2 separate regions of the Homo sapiens genome follow, and region 2 is linked to region 1. Evidence: promoter capture Hi-C in 16 types of primary human blood cells and fetal thymus (Javierre and others, 2016). All regions are on one chromosome and are shown on one strand. Each heading gives the region's core, a stretch centred on a gene start or on the middle of the fragment in contact. The rest is flanking DNA. Distances are from core to core; before and after follow the strand shown.

Region 1 (7,709 bases), core at 2,425-4,924:
GTCTTGAACTCCCGACCTCAGGTGATCTGCCTGCCTTGGCCTCCCAAAGTGCTGGGATTACAGGCGTGAGCCACCACGCCTGGCCTGATAGCCCCAGGTTTGATGTGGCTTTCTCCTTATGTCTGTTCACATAGTCCTCCTTGTGTGTGTGTCTGTATGTGTCCAAAGTTCCCCTTTTTATAAAGACATCAGTCATATTGCATTAGGGCCCACTCTAATAACCTCATTTAACTTGATTACCTCTGTAAAAACTCCATTTCCTTCCTTCCTTCCTTCCTTCCTTTCTCCCTTTCTTTTTATTTTTTGAGACATGGCTTTGCTCTGTCACCCAGGTGGGAGTGCAGTGGTAGATCATAGCTTACTGGAGCCTCAATTTCCTGGGCTCAAGCAATGCACCTATTGCAGCCTCCCAAGTAACTGGGAATATAGATAACTGCCACCACACTCGGTTAATTTTTTTTATTTTTTGTAGAGATGAGGTCTCGCCCTATTGTCCAGGCTGGTCTCAAACTCATGGGCTCAAAGAATCCTCCCGCCTCAGTCTCCCAAACTGCTAGGATTATAGGTATGAGCCACCACGCCTGTCCCAAAACCCTACTTTCAAATAGGGTCACATTCTGAGGTACTGGGAGTTAGGACTTCAACATATCTTTTGTGGGGGGCACAATTCAACCTGTAAAACAAAGATGAAGAGAATTTACTTATCAGACATTCTTACTAAAAGAACCTACTGAAGGATTTCCTTTATCATGAAGGAAATTAGGCTGGGTGCAGTGGCTCATGCCTGTAATCCCAGCACTTTGAGAGGCTGAGGCAGGTGGATCACCTGGGGTCAGGAGTTCAAGACCAGCCTGGCCAACATGGTGAAACCCCATCTTTACAAGAAATACGAAAAGTAGCCAGGTGGTGACATGCACCTGTAATCCAAGCTACTAGGGAGGCTGAGGCAGGAGAATTGCTGGAACCCGGGAGGTGGAGGCTGAAGTGAGCTGAGATTGAACCACTGCACTCTAGCCTGGGTGACAGAATGAGACCATGTCTCAAAAAAGAAAAAAAAAAAAAAAGGAAATTAAACTCATGAGGAAGAAGTAGTATACAAATACACAAAGAGAAACAATGACCAAACAAACAATGCAGAGAAGACTCTTGCCTAAGATCATATTACCCTTAAGTAGTATAATCAGTATTTGTACCCAGGTTGTCTGACAGCTTAGCCCAGGCTCTTAACTTTTACAGTCCATACATCTCTATGAGGACTCTTTCAAAAGTCTCATGAGGTAATGTACAGGACAGTATTTCAGACTTTTTTTGAATTTCAATATTCAATCACTATTTTATTTTATTTTATTTTATTTTATTTTTTGAGACAAGGTCTCACTCTGTCTTTCAGGCTGGAGTGCAATGACACAATTGATCCCCACTCACTGCAGCCTTGGCCTCCAGGCCTCACACAATTCTCCTGCCTCAGCCTCCTGAGTAGCTGGGACTACAGGGGCATGCCACCATGCCTGGCTAATCAGTCAGTATTTATTGATCATCTGTAATGAGAATCTAAGAAGGTCCCAGAGAATCAAAATATCAGATCCTTTTTACTCTTTCTCAAATTGGGGAGGAATGAGTCTTCTTTTTTTTTTCCAGAATAATTTATTCACATCCAGTATCCATTTTGTATTTTTTTCCCGTGATGCACTGTGACAGGTGTTCTAGGTACAAGAGGTGGAAGAACCATTATTCCATAGTTCTTGATTTCAAGGAGCTTACAGTCTAAGAAAAATGTTTTCTAAAAAAAGGTAGACAGTGTTATATGCCTTGAGAGAGAAATAGATGTTGTGAGGGGAGTTCAGAGGAGAGATTATCTTTGCTCTGTGTGATGGGGGATGTAGTGCCCATTTGCTGGACTTTGAAAGACAAACAGGACGGCGATTAACACCAGTGATTTATTGAGTATCTACTTGTGTGCATGGAGCTATGTTTGGAGCTTTTTATCCTGATCTCATTTATTTCTCACAATAACCCTGTTAGGTCAATATGGTCACTCTCAAACATGAGAAGACTGAAGCTCATTAAAAATAGGTGGCAGATGCTGGACGTGGTGGCTTGCCTGTAATCCCAGCCCTTTGGGAGGCCGAGGCAGGCGGATCACTTGAGGCTGGGAGTTGGAGACCAGCCTGGGCAACACGGTGAAACCCGTCTCTACCAAAACTACAAAAATTAGCCGGGCGTGGTGGCAGGCGCCTGTAATCCCAGCTACTCGGGAGGCTGAGGCAGGAGAATCACTTGATCCTGGGAGGCAGAGGTTGCAGTGAGCCGAGATCGTGCCACTGCATTCCAGCCTGGGTGACAGAGCGAGACCCTGGCTCAAAAAAAAAAAAAAAAAAAAAATGTGGCCGGGTGCGGTGGCTCAAGCCTTTAATATCAAAGCACTACAGCACTTTGGGCGACCAAGGCGAGCGGATTGTTTGAGCTCAGGAGTTTGAGACCAGCTTGGGCAACAAGGTGAAAACCCGTCTGTACAAAAATATAAAAATTAGCTGAGTGTGGGTGGCGCGCGCCTGTAGTCCCAGCGCTACTCACGAGGCTGAGGTGGGAGGATCGCTTGAGCGCGGGAGGTAGAGGCTGGAGTGAGTCGTGATTGCACCATTGCACTCGAGCCTGGGTGACAGAGCAAGATCCTGTCTCAAGAAACAAACAAACGTACAAAAAAAAAAAAAAACCCCACAAAATATCCAAGTGACTTGCTTAAAGTCACACAATTAGTAAATGGAACCAGACATAGGCTAAAGGCAGACCAAGCCTTGAATCTAGATTAGGCTGGTTCCAAATTCCCTGCCCTTTCATCTCCCTAACAGTTTGTTTTCTTTCTCTCTTTCTTTCTTTTTTTAAAAAATAAAATAAATTTCCTAATTATTTATGTAGCACTTTCTCTTAGCATAACAGTTTTTAGAGTAGGTTAACTTTTTTTTCCATTTCCAAAAGTCAATTATTATCTATTCTGGTTCAAATGCCAGGTCCTTTTATGGCAGAGATTCTCAAAAAAGTGATCCGCGGAGGAGTTGCACCATTAGGTCACTGGGGTAGTCTGCAAAAGTGCAAATTTCCAGACCCCATTCTCAAAGATTCTGAGTACGTTTGAGATGAGACCCAGAGAACCTGCATTTTTTTGTTTTTAAACAAACGTATTCAGCCTCTCTTGAGAACCACTGTGCCTAGAATGTCTTTGGGAAGCTTTTGGAAGTAATAAGTTCGTTTTGGAAAGAACACTCCAGACAAGCTTTCCAATAGTCTTTCCCAAACTGTCATGCCTGAGGTTCTGGACTTACTCTTACTCATTCCTGAGAGCACAGCGACTAGCTGAAGGACTGATCGACTGATGAGGGTTTGACCTCATCTACATACATCTCAATTTAGCAGCACATATTAAGCTAGCTGGCAAACTGCTTAAAGCCACATGGGAAATCTGCGCGTTGGGCTATGTCTGGAAGATACGGAGGAGCAAGCCAGACCTGACCGGTCAGGTAGTGAAGACACGGAATCCGAAACCCAAATATTTCAGGAGTCAATTCTCAGAGAAAGATAAGAAGCCCGGTTAGTCCAACTCATGCGCAGGCGCAGAAGAAAGACCGGCGCACAAAGTAAGACGCGCCCTTCCCCACCCTATTTCAGTCCAACTCCCACTGCGCAGGCGCTTACAGTGCACCAAGATGGCCGCCCCCGTGGATCTAGAGCTGAAGAAGGTAAAAGAGGGTCTTTGGCAGGCGGAGGTCTTCTTTTTGGAGGCTGAGGGGACTATAGACAAGAATATCAAGTGAGGCACGAGCCTTGCAGAAGGAAGGAGGGTCCAGTGGACTAGGGAATGGTTTCCCAGAGTCCTAAGGCCTCACTGGGTCTCCATAAACGGGGTGGGGGGCGAGCGGCTCTTGCTGGGTAGGAGCCGGTTGGTCTGGGTCGGGTAAGTCTGCGGGCCTGTCTCGGGCTTGTCCAGTCTTTCTGAGCTCCAGAGACATTTCGTTGCGTTTGGAGGCTTCAGGGACTCACTTTCATAGTAAGAACTAAAGAGAGCATTTCAAATGGGGGTCCCTTCGGACCCCTTGCCTGAGCTGTGGCATCCGTAATTCTGCCTCATTTGCTTTGAAAAACTCCAAGTCCAACCTTTGTTTTTAGGCCATTTATTCGGTTCTGTACCTTGAAAGTTGCAATATCTACAGTTCGGAAAACCAAGCATTGTAGCAGCAATGTTCATTTCAGGATTTTGCCCCCCCTCCACTTCTTTTGAAGGACTCGTCAAACAAAACAAAACAAAACCTCCTTCTTTTGAAGGAATTGTCAAAAACAAAACAAAACCAGTAAAGTTTTCCAAATAAAACCGGTATCGGAAGGAATTGGGTTTCCTGTTTTCCTCAGTTGCTTATAAATGTGTTGTTATTCAGATTTTTGCTATCTAAGAATGATCAGCATTCTAACACCACTAATGACCCCAAACCAGTATGCTTTGTGCGGTGGGGTGGATTGGAAAGGACCCTAGAATTTATCTATTTTAAATCTACTTTTCTGGAAAAGGAACCAGTGCCAGAAAAGTCTGTCAGAAGTTGGGACTAGAATCCAGTATTCTCTGCCTTATCTCACACTTTTTTGACCACTATTTTGAGTTCTTCAGATGAGCAACATCTTAGTTAAGACTGCCTGTGGTCAACTTGTGTAAAAGAAATAGGACAGCCGAAATAGCTGTTGCTTCTAACAAATGAAGCTTTTGTTAGTGTTGTGAGGATATTATGTGTTTGTGTCTTGCTTTTGTTCTTCTTGTCTTGAATCTTGTAAATTTAGCTCTTAGGTGGAGTCTCTAATCTTTAACAGTATACTAGCTCATCTTTAATGGTATACTAGCTTCCTTAGCAAGCTGTATAGAGCAGTCAGATGATACCTGGAATTTTACATTTCAAAACAAAATTGTGCATTCTAAAAATTTACCTTTTCTTCTGTTAAAAGTACCGATTTAAATCAGGGTTTAGTGAATGGATTTGCCTCCCGGTACTTTTGAATTTATTGCTACATTTGAAACTTGCGGGCGGTGAATGCAAACTAAGAAAATGATTACAAACTTAAAATGAATAATTTTGATAACCAATTAATTAAAAAACTTGTTTAAAGGTTTTATCTTCTAATGTTTTTACAGGGTCCTTTTTTTGGGTGGAGACAAATAGGAAATTTCAGGCCCCTCCCCTTCCCCAAAGTAAATCTTTCAAAACCTTACTAGTAGGTGAAAACAAGGTCACAATAAAAATTATGTAGTAGCCTTTGCTGTGCATTGCAGTCACAGATGTTATTAAGGCACAAATTTAACAGCATGTGAAAGTCATTCCAGGCACTTCAACAAAAGTATCCAAGAACTGTTTATCTTCCAGTTAAGTAAGTGTACGCAAGGGTCAAATTTGGCCTGGTATCTGTGGATGAAGATCATGATGCAATTCTTTTGCCAGTGCTTTGCATTTTTTCTCACTCTCTTTCTTGGTCTTCCTCTTAAAAATGTTCATATTATGAATATTACTATAGACAGTGGAATGGAAAGATTGCTGAACTAAGGGGTTAGAAGAAATGGATTTAAATAACACCTGCCTTCCCCCCAGTAGTTGTTCAACCTTGTGCAAGCCACTTTTATCTCTTAACTCATTTGGTTACTTAATTTGTAAATTGTGGATGATGAGACTGCCAATGCTAACTCATGGAATTACTGAGAGGCATAAATGAGATATTTATTATATTTCCTCATTAATATTCTTATATTAATATTCCCATGTTAATATTTCAAACTAATGTGAGAAAGTGCTTTGAAACCTAATTGTGCAATACAAATGTAGTGAGTTATTACTTTTATGGTTCTTGTTTTGAATCTCTGGATTTCATCCTTGACTATTGCATTTATTTCTTTTACTACTCCTTGAGTACTTGCTACTTAATATGGTTATTACTTAATATGCATTTGATTTGCTTCACACTGATTGTATCTTCTGATGATTGTAAATTCAGTATTTAGTATGGTGACTTGATTGTTTACAGTTATGTTGACTTTTATTGATGTTTGGTAAATTTCACAGCTTTGTCTCTGGCTAGCATATTTTGTTTTAATATATTTGGATTTGAGGTAAATGTTTCCTGTAAAATGTTTTACCTACTAAATCATGGACTTGTTTTTATTAGGCCTTCACAGAGCTTCAAGCCAAAGTTATTGACACTCAACAGAAGGTGAAGCTCGCAGACATACAGATTGAACAGCTAAACAGAACGAAAAAGCATGCACATCTTACAGATACAGAGATCATGACTTTGGTAGATGAGACTAACATGTATGAAGGTGTAGGAAGAATGTAAGTAAAATGTGTCCTTAATGGAGTTATTTTGGGAGTGCTTTTGTCCGAGTTAAATAGAATTTGTTCATCTTAAAACTTGGGTTAGGCCAGGAGTGGTGGCTCATGCCTGTAATCCTGGCACTTTGGGAGGTCGAGGCGAGTGGATCACTTGAGGGCAGCCTGTTGGCCAGTATGGTGGAACCCTGTATCTACCACAAATACAAAGATTAGCTGAGCATGGTGGCACTTGCCTGTAGTCTTGGCTACTTGGGAGGCTGAGGCAGGAGAGTCGCTTGAACCCCGGAGGTGGAGGTTGCAGTGAGCCGAAATCATGCCACTGCACTCCAGCCTGGGCAGCAGAGCTAGACTCTGTCTCAAAACAAAAGAAACTTTGGTTTAAAGTAAGTATCTTTTTCTTTTTGAGACGGAGTTTTCGCTATATCGCCCAGGCTGGAGTGCAATGGCCCGATCTTGGCTCACTGCAATCTCCGTCTCCTGGGTTCAAGCGATTCCCCTGCTTCAGCCTCCTGAGTGACTGGGATTACGGGCGCTTGCCACCACGCCCTGCTAATTTTTGTGTTTTTAGTAGAGACGGGGTTTTACCATATTTGCCAGGATGGTCTGGAACTCCTGACCTCCTGATCCGCCCACCTCAGCCTCCCAAAGTGCTGGATTACAGATATGAGTCACCACACCCGGCAGGTTAAAGTATCTTAGAAATAACTTTAAAGATTATCTAATTAAATGCTTTCTTTTTTTAAAATGAGGAGCTGAACTTCAGGTAGATTAATTAAAGTGTTTAAGTTTAGACTTTAAAGTACATTTTTTTTTTTTTTTTGAGACAGAGTCTCGCTCTGTTGCCAGGCTAGAGTGCAGTGGTGTGATTCTGGCTCACTGCAACCTCCGCCTCTTGGGTTCAAACAATTCTGCCTCAGCCTCCTGAGTAGCTGGGACTACAGGCGCATGCTACCATGCCCGGCTAATTTTTGTATTTTTAGTAGAAATGGGGTTTTACCGTGTTGGCCAGGATGGTCTCAATCTCTCCTCTTGATCCGCCCGCCTTGGCCTCCCACAGTGCTGGGATTACAGGCGTGAGCCACCGCCCCTGGCCTCAAAGTACATTTCTTAAGTGCTTACTTTCCTGTTCTGTCTATGATTAGGTACTTAAGTGTAAGTTCAGTAATAAAAATGATTTGTCATGGAAAATGTTTATAGCAATATTATATTGTATGTGAAGAAGATTTATTTAAGTAGGTGCAGTTTTAACCTCCTCTTCCCTGCTTAATTTATTAGGAGTGATACAAATCATAAATCTTTCAGATGTCTGATCAGTGTTGTAAAATAAAAATAAAAATTCAATTGTCATTT
Region 2 (7,709 bases), core at 3,621-6,120, 57 kb before region 1:
TATATTTGATTGGTGATTTCAGGAAATGAAGCTGGGCATACCTGGCCCTGCCCCTTTCTCTCCCCTCTCTCGAGTATAAGCTGCCTGTTTGATGTATGTATTTAGCTCTACTCCCCTGGGGTAAGATAGTCTCAAACCAGTGCTTCCACGACTGGTGGGTAAGTCTATTCAATTTTGGCTTCATCATTAGGAAGCCCATTCACCCACAGATATAACCCATGTTCCTTTATCAGTGTTGTCAGAAAGGAAGATGATATCAGGCCTTCTGTTGTCTTATTTCTCAATTGATTCAGAACCAGAGTGTAAATAGTACTGCCAGTTATTGGGTAAGTATGCAGCATTTTGCTGAACTTAACCAGGGGGGATAGTAAGGGTGCAGCCCCTCCCCTTCCCTACATCCTTCTTCACCTGACCAAGGTCCCTGTTTCCCTTACCCACCTCCTGGGCCTGGGTATTGGCAGAGGCACCCGTAGGCAGAGGACCCAGGCTTCTGGATAGGATAGGTATGGGTCAAGTTCAGCATTTTGCCCACAGCATCGTAGATGAAGATGAGGCTGATGAGGGCACAGAAACCTTCCTCAGTGAAGCGGGTGAAGTAGCGCACCAGCACACTGGCCTCTGTGGCCACCAGCACCAGGCAAAAGGTAGCCACCCAGATGCCCACCCATAGGCGGAAGGGCAGGTAGTCCAGGCTGTAATCTCTGTGGGGATGAGAGACAGGAAGGCTGGCTTAGCAGGGCTGTCTGCTTCCCACTAAACCCAGGTCAGGTGTCCCTCAACCCAAACAGATAGCTCCCACTCTCTCCTATTCACCCAGCCAGGAGCAGGCTGACCATGGCACTAGTGAGGGTCCGGTGATGGGGGGAGCTCTCCTACCTGCTGAAAGAGAAGAGCAGGCGCTCAAAGACCAGCACTGGCCCCGTGCTGCTCAGAATGGTGAGGGGCTGGCCTGCCATCAGGCAGAAGGCAGCTCCAGCCACTGCTGTGCCCAGGAAACTTTCCAGCACTCCCTGGAAGCCAACAGGGGCTCAGCACAGGACCCTGAAGTCCTCGGGGTCCTTTGAAGCTTTGGGAGAGCCTCCTTAACTTACCCATAGTCCCAGGGGAAGGGATGGACTAGGGGACACCAACGCTTGTGCCTGCCCCCTGGGCCCTACCCACCTGGGCACCATCAGTGGCATCTCCCAGCAGACCCCCAAAAGTGATGGCATTAGTGACAGTGGCCAGGTAAATGTAGAGTACGGCCGAGAAGCACTGGAGATGCAGGGCGTCCAAGAAATCGCTGGGGTACCACGGGACCTTCCTGCGCACGTCCTGGATAAGGCCCCCAAACAGCCTCCCGCCCGAGGGTCGTCAGTGATCCAGGTTTTCACACTCCACACCCGCATCCCCGCTACTTTCCCTGTGACCGGGTGAGCCCCTCCCACAGTGAGCACACACCTCAGTTTCCCTGTGACTCCTCCCCTCCCCCAGGTCACCTACCCTTGTTTCCTCCCAGCTCGCCTCACCTGCCGGTCCGCTGCAACTCCGGGCTGTGTGCGTGTGGCCCATGGCGGTGCCTGTCCTCAGCCGAGGTCAGGCGCGGGACGGCGGGACCTCTGATCTCCCGCTGTTGCGAGGGAAGCCTGAGGAGGAGGGGAACCCCAGGTTGGCTGAGGATCTCCAACCAGTCTGCGACTCGGTCCAGAGCTCGTGGCGCCCTGCCCCCTAGCGGCTGCTCTTGTCTCTGCCGGCGAGGGAACCATGGCGACACCTGGGCCTCTAGAAGGTCCAGGTCATATTGCGACCTGTGAAAGCCAGGCTCGGGCAGGGAAGGTCTTTGTTCAGGTCTCTTAGCGAGAGAGTAGTCCAGCAGAACTCAGAGTTAGGTCTGCCTGACTCCAAATCCAAAGATAGGTCCCTATCTCTTTCCTGGGACACCACCCCTCCTCAACAATGGAATTAGACCCAGGGCCTATATGGGCAGGAATCTGTATGGGATGATGGCTCCCAGGTACCTTTTGTGCTGAGATGGCAGACATTTGGGCGGGGGAATCCGGGCTGTTGGGTCCCACCGACCTGGGGGAAGCACTGTCACCTCCTCTAGGAATGCATCCAGGGCTGCCAGAAGGTCATGAAGGTTGCTGGCCCGACGAACTGACCACTGGAATTGCTGGGAATGGGGGCACAGAATGGGTGGTAAGTGCAAACCTGGTCTCTTACATGCATTTTCATAGTCTCAAAACTAGACAGACACAAGTCACAGAGGCAGACAAGTCATTCACACATTCCTTTATGCATGCATTAATTCATTCATTCAGTGGGTATCTATTGAGTGCCTACAGTGTGCCAGCACTCATCCAGTAATGGGGCTGCACTAGGAGACGAGGAAACTTCAGTCTCAGTGCTCACTGTGCCTCATTGCTGTATTTAGGGACACATACAGAGTCCACACACACACACTCACATGAGCCCATGCATGTATGCATGTGTGCACACACACACAGGCATGCACGCGTGCGCGCGCACACACACACACCTGCTCAGCTCACCGGGTCACTGAGGAGGACAGCTGCTGCCCGTCCCATCTCATGGTAGCCCTTTCCCAGCATACAGGGGCCCAGGAGAAGGCAGAAAAACCTGAGGAAGGAACCAGGCCCCAGAGATTCACAGGCTGCTTTCCCACAGGGCAGCCCTGGCCTCTGATGCTCAGCTCTGACCTATCAGCTCCCATAAACACACTCATTTGCACACCTACCATGCAGCCCTGACCACTACTCTCTCCCCAGACCCCTGAGCACCATCCTCCCCACAGCCTCAGAGAATCAGACTGAGACCCTCCTTCCCCTCCTCAGTAAAGACCCTTCTAGGTTCTGGGATCCCTGACTCCCACTCACTCAGTAGCCTCACCTGCTTGGGAGGGACACCTCAGTAAGGGACCCCAGTACCACAGGGTTCCGCAGTCGAACAAAGGCTCCCAGTGGCTGTGCCAGGAAGCCCAGCTCCCCTGCCAGCACAGTCCCTGCCTCAGCTCCTGGAGGTAGCTTCTGTCTCAGGGGGTTCTGACACTGGATGGGGGTTCAAGGAGACACAGAATATGAAAGGTTATTTGGGGAGGATAAGATCTCAAATGATGAGAAATCCAGTGGAGAGTAGACTTTTGTTAATTTCTAACCCCTCTCCCAGCCACTGGAAAGGGACCCCAAGGAAGGGCCACAAACCTGTTCCCTCAGGGGGGCTTCCTCATTGTCAGAAGCCTTTCTTGGATGAGTAGAGCCTACAAAACAGGATTATGCAGTGATTAAGACCACAGGCTTTGGGGGTGGATCCACCAGGATTCCCTAATCACTTTTGCCACTGACAAGCTGTAAGAATTAGAGTATACCCTTCTCCACTCTGAGCCACAGTTTTCTCACCACTAAAATGGGGATAATTGTGGTACTATTTACAGGGTGGTTGTGAAGATCAAATGAGATACTGTGAAGATCAAATGGTAGGCCTAGTGCCTACCAAGTACATGTCTTCACAGAACTCTCTTACGATTCTAGCCCCCTGAATCTTCTCCCCACAACATTACCACCAGTTTCCTCTTGCTCATGAGTCCTGGGTTGGAGCCTGAACTAAGCCTGGGCTACTTCTAGCCCTGGAAGGTGCAGGGGAGATCTGAGACCCTGCCACACCAGGGTCTTGGTCCTGGGCCCAGGGAGGGGCTCTCACCCCAGCAGGGCCTGGTGCCTGTGGTCTGGTTGTAATGCTGGGGTCTCTGCAGCAGCAAGGCCTGCAACTGCCCTCTCAGCTCTGGGCTCAGCGACTCCACCCTGGTCACCTGCTCTGGAGAATGGATTGGGGGTCATCTCCTTCCTGAGAGTTCCCTGCCGCACACTCTTCCCCTTCTCCCTCTGCCCAGACACCTTTCCCTTCTGGGAGTCTCAGAATGCCAGGGCCAATGAACTTGCTCCTCCACCCTGCTTTTCCATGTCCACCCTGTGACAAGGGTAGACAATCCTAGGAGGGGTAGGGATGGGCTCTGGAAGATTTCAAGACTTTGGAGGGGAAATCCTGGGGAAAAGGCATGGCTACCCAGGCCCTTCCTGCAAAGGATCCCAGCCTACCCACGAGCTCCAGGAGGCTCTGAGCTGGGCAGTCCAGCAGTACAAGGCCCTCGGCCAGCAGGCTGCGGAGCTTCTGGAGGCTGGGCAGTGCCAGGGTGGGCACGTGGGGGGCACTCCACCGGCCTGCAGCCACCTCCAACTTCTCCTCAAACAGTACCCACCTGTGATGAAGGTGGGTAGACAGTGTTATTGAGGGCATTTCTCCCATGTCCAGGAGCAGAGATGCAGAGGAGCTAGGGAAGGCAAGGCAATGAGGGCATCCTGGGCCCAGTGGTGTGAAGTCTCCCCCCCACCCTGGCAGTCACCCCTCATCTAGGGTCTTGGGGATCTCAAAACTAGACTGCAGAGGAGGCTGGGCATCATGGAAGGTAAGACCCTGAAATAAGGGAACACAGCTGGGAAAATCCTAATTTTGGGCAGCCCCATAAGAAGCGCTGGGGGACATATAGGAGGCTCCAGCTGGGGAAGGGGAAGGATCCCACAGAACTGGCCTGCATCCAACTTACCTGCCTGTCTCTCTCCACTCCAGCGCCTGGGGCCAGCCCAGCAGCTCATTCAGCTGAATGAAGAGCAGAGGGTCTTTGGGTACTCCCAGTTCCTTGCTCTCTGTGTCTGAGGGGCCATCAGGGCTGGGGCCGGTGCCAGGGTCAGGGTTGCTGTCCAGCTCCCCTGAAGGAATATTTCTAGGAGCACTGGAGGCTTCAAACCCTTCCTGGCCTGGCAGCTTCATTTCCATGAGGCTTGCACAGAATCTCAGAACCAGTACAGTCCTAGGTTCTGAAGCCAGGGGCCCTCTGGCTGGTTGCATTTATAATGCATCCCCCACTGCAGCACAACACAAACAGAACAAGGCCTGCTGACTCCAGACTCTACCGGTCACCTACTCCCCTACTTGCTTACCCCACCCCCTGCTGGCATAAGAGTATTTGTAAGACTAGTCTGGCCTTTCCCAGGCTCTCCAGAAATGCCCAACCTGGGGCCAAAATGTGTATGTGCATTTCCTGTGGTATCAGGTCTGATCCCACTGTGTTTTGTGTAAAGAAACAGGAGTAAATGATTGGCTTGGGTCTGAGGACTTGGTACCCCCAGATTTTGCTGCCCCCCTCACTTGTATCAAATATAAATACCAAACACCCAGGACTGTTTTGGGTGTCACCAACACACCCCTGGGGCCACAGACACACCTATTTGGACAAACAGGGACCTAATAAATAATTGAGTCCATGGAAGCCAGACAGGGTAAGGGAGATAGCAGGCAGAGGACCTGCCCATTAAATGGGATAATGGTGGAAGACCTAGTGTCTGAGTCTTAAATTCTTTTCTTTTCTTTTTTTTTGAGACAGGGTCTCACTCTCTCACCCAGTCTGGAGTGTAGTGGCACAGTTATAGCTCACTGCACCTTTGACCTCCTAGCTCAAGTGATCCTCCCACCTCAGCCTCCAAGGTAGTTGGGACTACAGGTGCACGCCACCATGCCCAGCTAAGTCTTTTATTTTATTTTATTTTATTTTTGAGACGGAGTCTCGCTCTGTCGCCCAGGCTGGAGTGCAGTGGTGTGATCTCAGCTCACTGCAACCTTCACCTCTTGGGTTCAAGTGATTCTCCTGCCTCAGCCTCCCAAGTAGCTGAGATTACAGACATGTGCCACCAGGCCTGGCTGATTTTTATATTTTTAGTAGAGACAGGGTTTCACCATGTTGGCCAGGCTGGTCTCAAAAACTCCTGACCTCAGGTGATCCATCCGCCTCAGCCTCCCAAAGTGCTAGGATTACAAGCGTAAGCCACTGTGCCTGGCTGCCCAGCTAACGAGTCTTAAATTCTTTTGTCCAACAACACTTAGGAATTCCCTAATTTAGCTGTGTCCCTGGGATCTGCCCTGTGAGGATGGAGGAGCCCACTAGGGGGTGTAAGTGAAGGAGTTCCTGGAGCTAAATGAGCAAAGGAAAATGTGGTCCATTATTTGCAAATCCTGTTGACTCTATCTTCAAAATATACCCATAATCCAACCACATCTCCCCACCTCCAGCACTGCTACCCTGATTCAAACAACCATCATTTCTCACCTGAATTATTTCAGTAGCTTCCTGGTCTCTTGTAATAACCCCCCTGCTTCCACTCTTCCTCCCTTGCCCAAAGTCCATCCTCCACACCATACATGTCCTTTCAAAAGGCAGTTGAGCCACATTACTCTTCGGTTCAATACTCACCCAACACACTCCCATTACTCCTAGAAGAAGAAGAAAAAAAAATCAAGCTCCTTGTCGTGGCCTGCAAGATTCACACCCTGGCCCCAACCCACCTCTCTGACGGCATCTCACACCAGCCTCCCCTCGCTCACTCCTTTCTAACCACACTGGCCTTCACCTGTTCTGCAAAACCTGTTCCTGCCTGAGGATCTTTGCAGGATCTATTTTCTCTGTAAGGAAAGCCTTTCCCCCATATCCTTACATGACAATCTGTGACCTAGGTCTCATCTCAGACGTTAGCTACTCACGGAAATCTTCCTTTTCCATCCTATCCTAAGTTTCTTTCTTTTTTTTTTTTTTTTTTTTTTTTGAGACGGAGTCTCGCTCTGTTGCCCAGGCTGGAGTGCAGTGGCATGATCTCGGCTTACTGCAAGCTCCGCCTCCCGTGTTCACGCCATTCTCCTGCCTCAGCCTCCAGAGTAGCTGGGACTACAGGCGCCCGCCACCACGTCCGGCTAATTTCTTTCTTTTTTTTTTTTTTTTTTTTGTATTGGTAGAGACGGAGTTTCACCGTGTTAGCCAGTATGGTCTCGATCTCCTGAACTCGTGATCCACCCGCCTCGGCCTTCCAAAGTGCAGGGATTACAGGCGTGAGCACCGCGCCCGGCCCATCCTACCCTAAGTTTCTCTCTTGGGTCACTCTCCATCACATTTCTCTGTTTTATTTTCTTCCTAGCAGTTACCACTACTAGTAACTGCCTCATTTATGTATTTGTTTATCATTTATTGCCTGACTGTCCACGCACGCACACGCTGAAATGCACAGTCCGTGGAGCAGGTATCTGTCTTGGCCGCGGCGCCTAGAGCGGCGCCTGGCACGTAGTGGCTCTCAATAAATACTTGTTCAATGAGAGCATACAAAGGACCGGGCTGAGAAAAGAGCCGCGCTTCTCCTGGAGGCCACACGAGGGCACTGCTCCCCTCAGACCGGATTGCTAGGGCCGCTCCCTTAGGCCCAGTGGCTGCAGACCTGCCGGGGCGCAGAGATGGAGATGCCCAGATGGCAGGGAGAGATCCTAAACCCTCAGCCTTGCCCTGGCCCACCGCGGAATGGCCCGGAGAGATGGGGGGTTGGGGAAGAACAACAGGATGGGGAAGGGAGGGCCAATCAGGCTCATCTGAATGTAGGTCAGCCACACCCCACATATTGAATACCAAGAATCCATCCCCTGAGAAAGGGCACCCAGGCCGGCCCTACCCCCAGCCTCGCGTCTGGTCCAAGGAGGTCCCAGGGCAGGAATTAGAAGAGCATGTCACTATATTTCCAGTTGGGGAGGGGTGCTGAGTCTGAGTGAGGAGGTGGTTTCAGTGCCAGGAGGAATAGAAACTGGCCTGCGGACTGAATGGGCCTTGAACCCCTGTGACCACTCCC

Evidence for each region. Contacts are between HindIII fragments. The CHiCAGO score rates a contact against its expected background, and 5 or more counts as called.
Region 2: a contact is called between the fragment with the promoter of SLC4A9 here and the fragment with the promoter of PFDN1 in region 1, in 1 of 17 cell types (monocytes). The highest score is 6.9, in monocytes.

What each region holds. Positions count from the first base shown.
Region 1 is chr5:140,299,066-140,306,774 of GRCh38, reverse strand. It overlaps PFDN1 (prefoldin subunit 1), which reads left to right and starts at 3,674. Exons shown (of 4, transcript NM_002622.5): 1 at 3,674-3,734; 2 at 6,193-6,359. The coding sequence starts at 3,702. RefSeq lists a silencer at 3,565-3,769 and enhancers at 3,658-3,937, 7,329-7,709. The HindIII fragment of the contact is 1,473 bases long and covers 3,274-4,746 here.
Region 2 is chr5:140,357,355-140,365,063 of GRCh38, reverse strand. SLC4A9 (solute carrier family 4 member 9) reads right to left here and starts at 4,870. Exons shown (of 22, transcript NM_031467.3): 1 at 4,598-4,870; 2 at 4,092-4,252; 3 at 3,697-3,810; 4 at 3,201-3,256; 5 at 2,890-3,047; 6 at 2,532-2,619; 7 at 1,998-2,152; 8 at 1,509-1,625; 9 at 1,162-1,336; 10 at 877-1,010; 11 at 439-701. The coding sequence starts at 4,827. RefSeq lists enhancers at 1,444-1,989, 1,860-2,009. The HindIII fragment of the contact is 10,887 bases long and covers 1,069-7,709 here.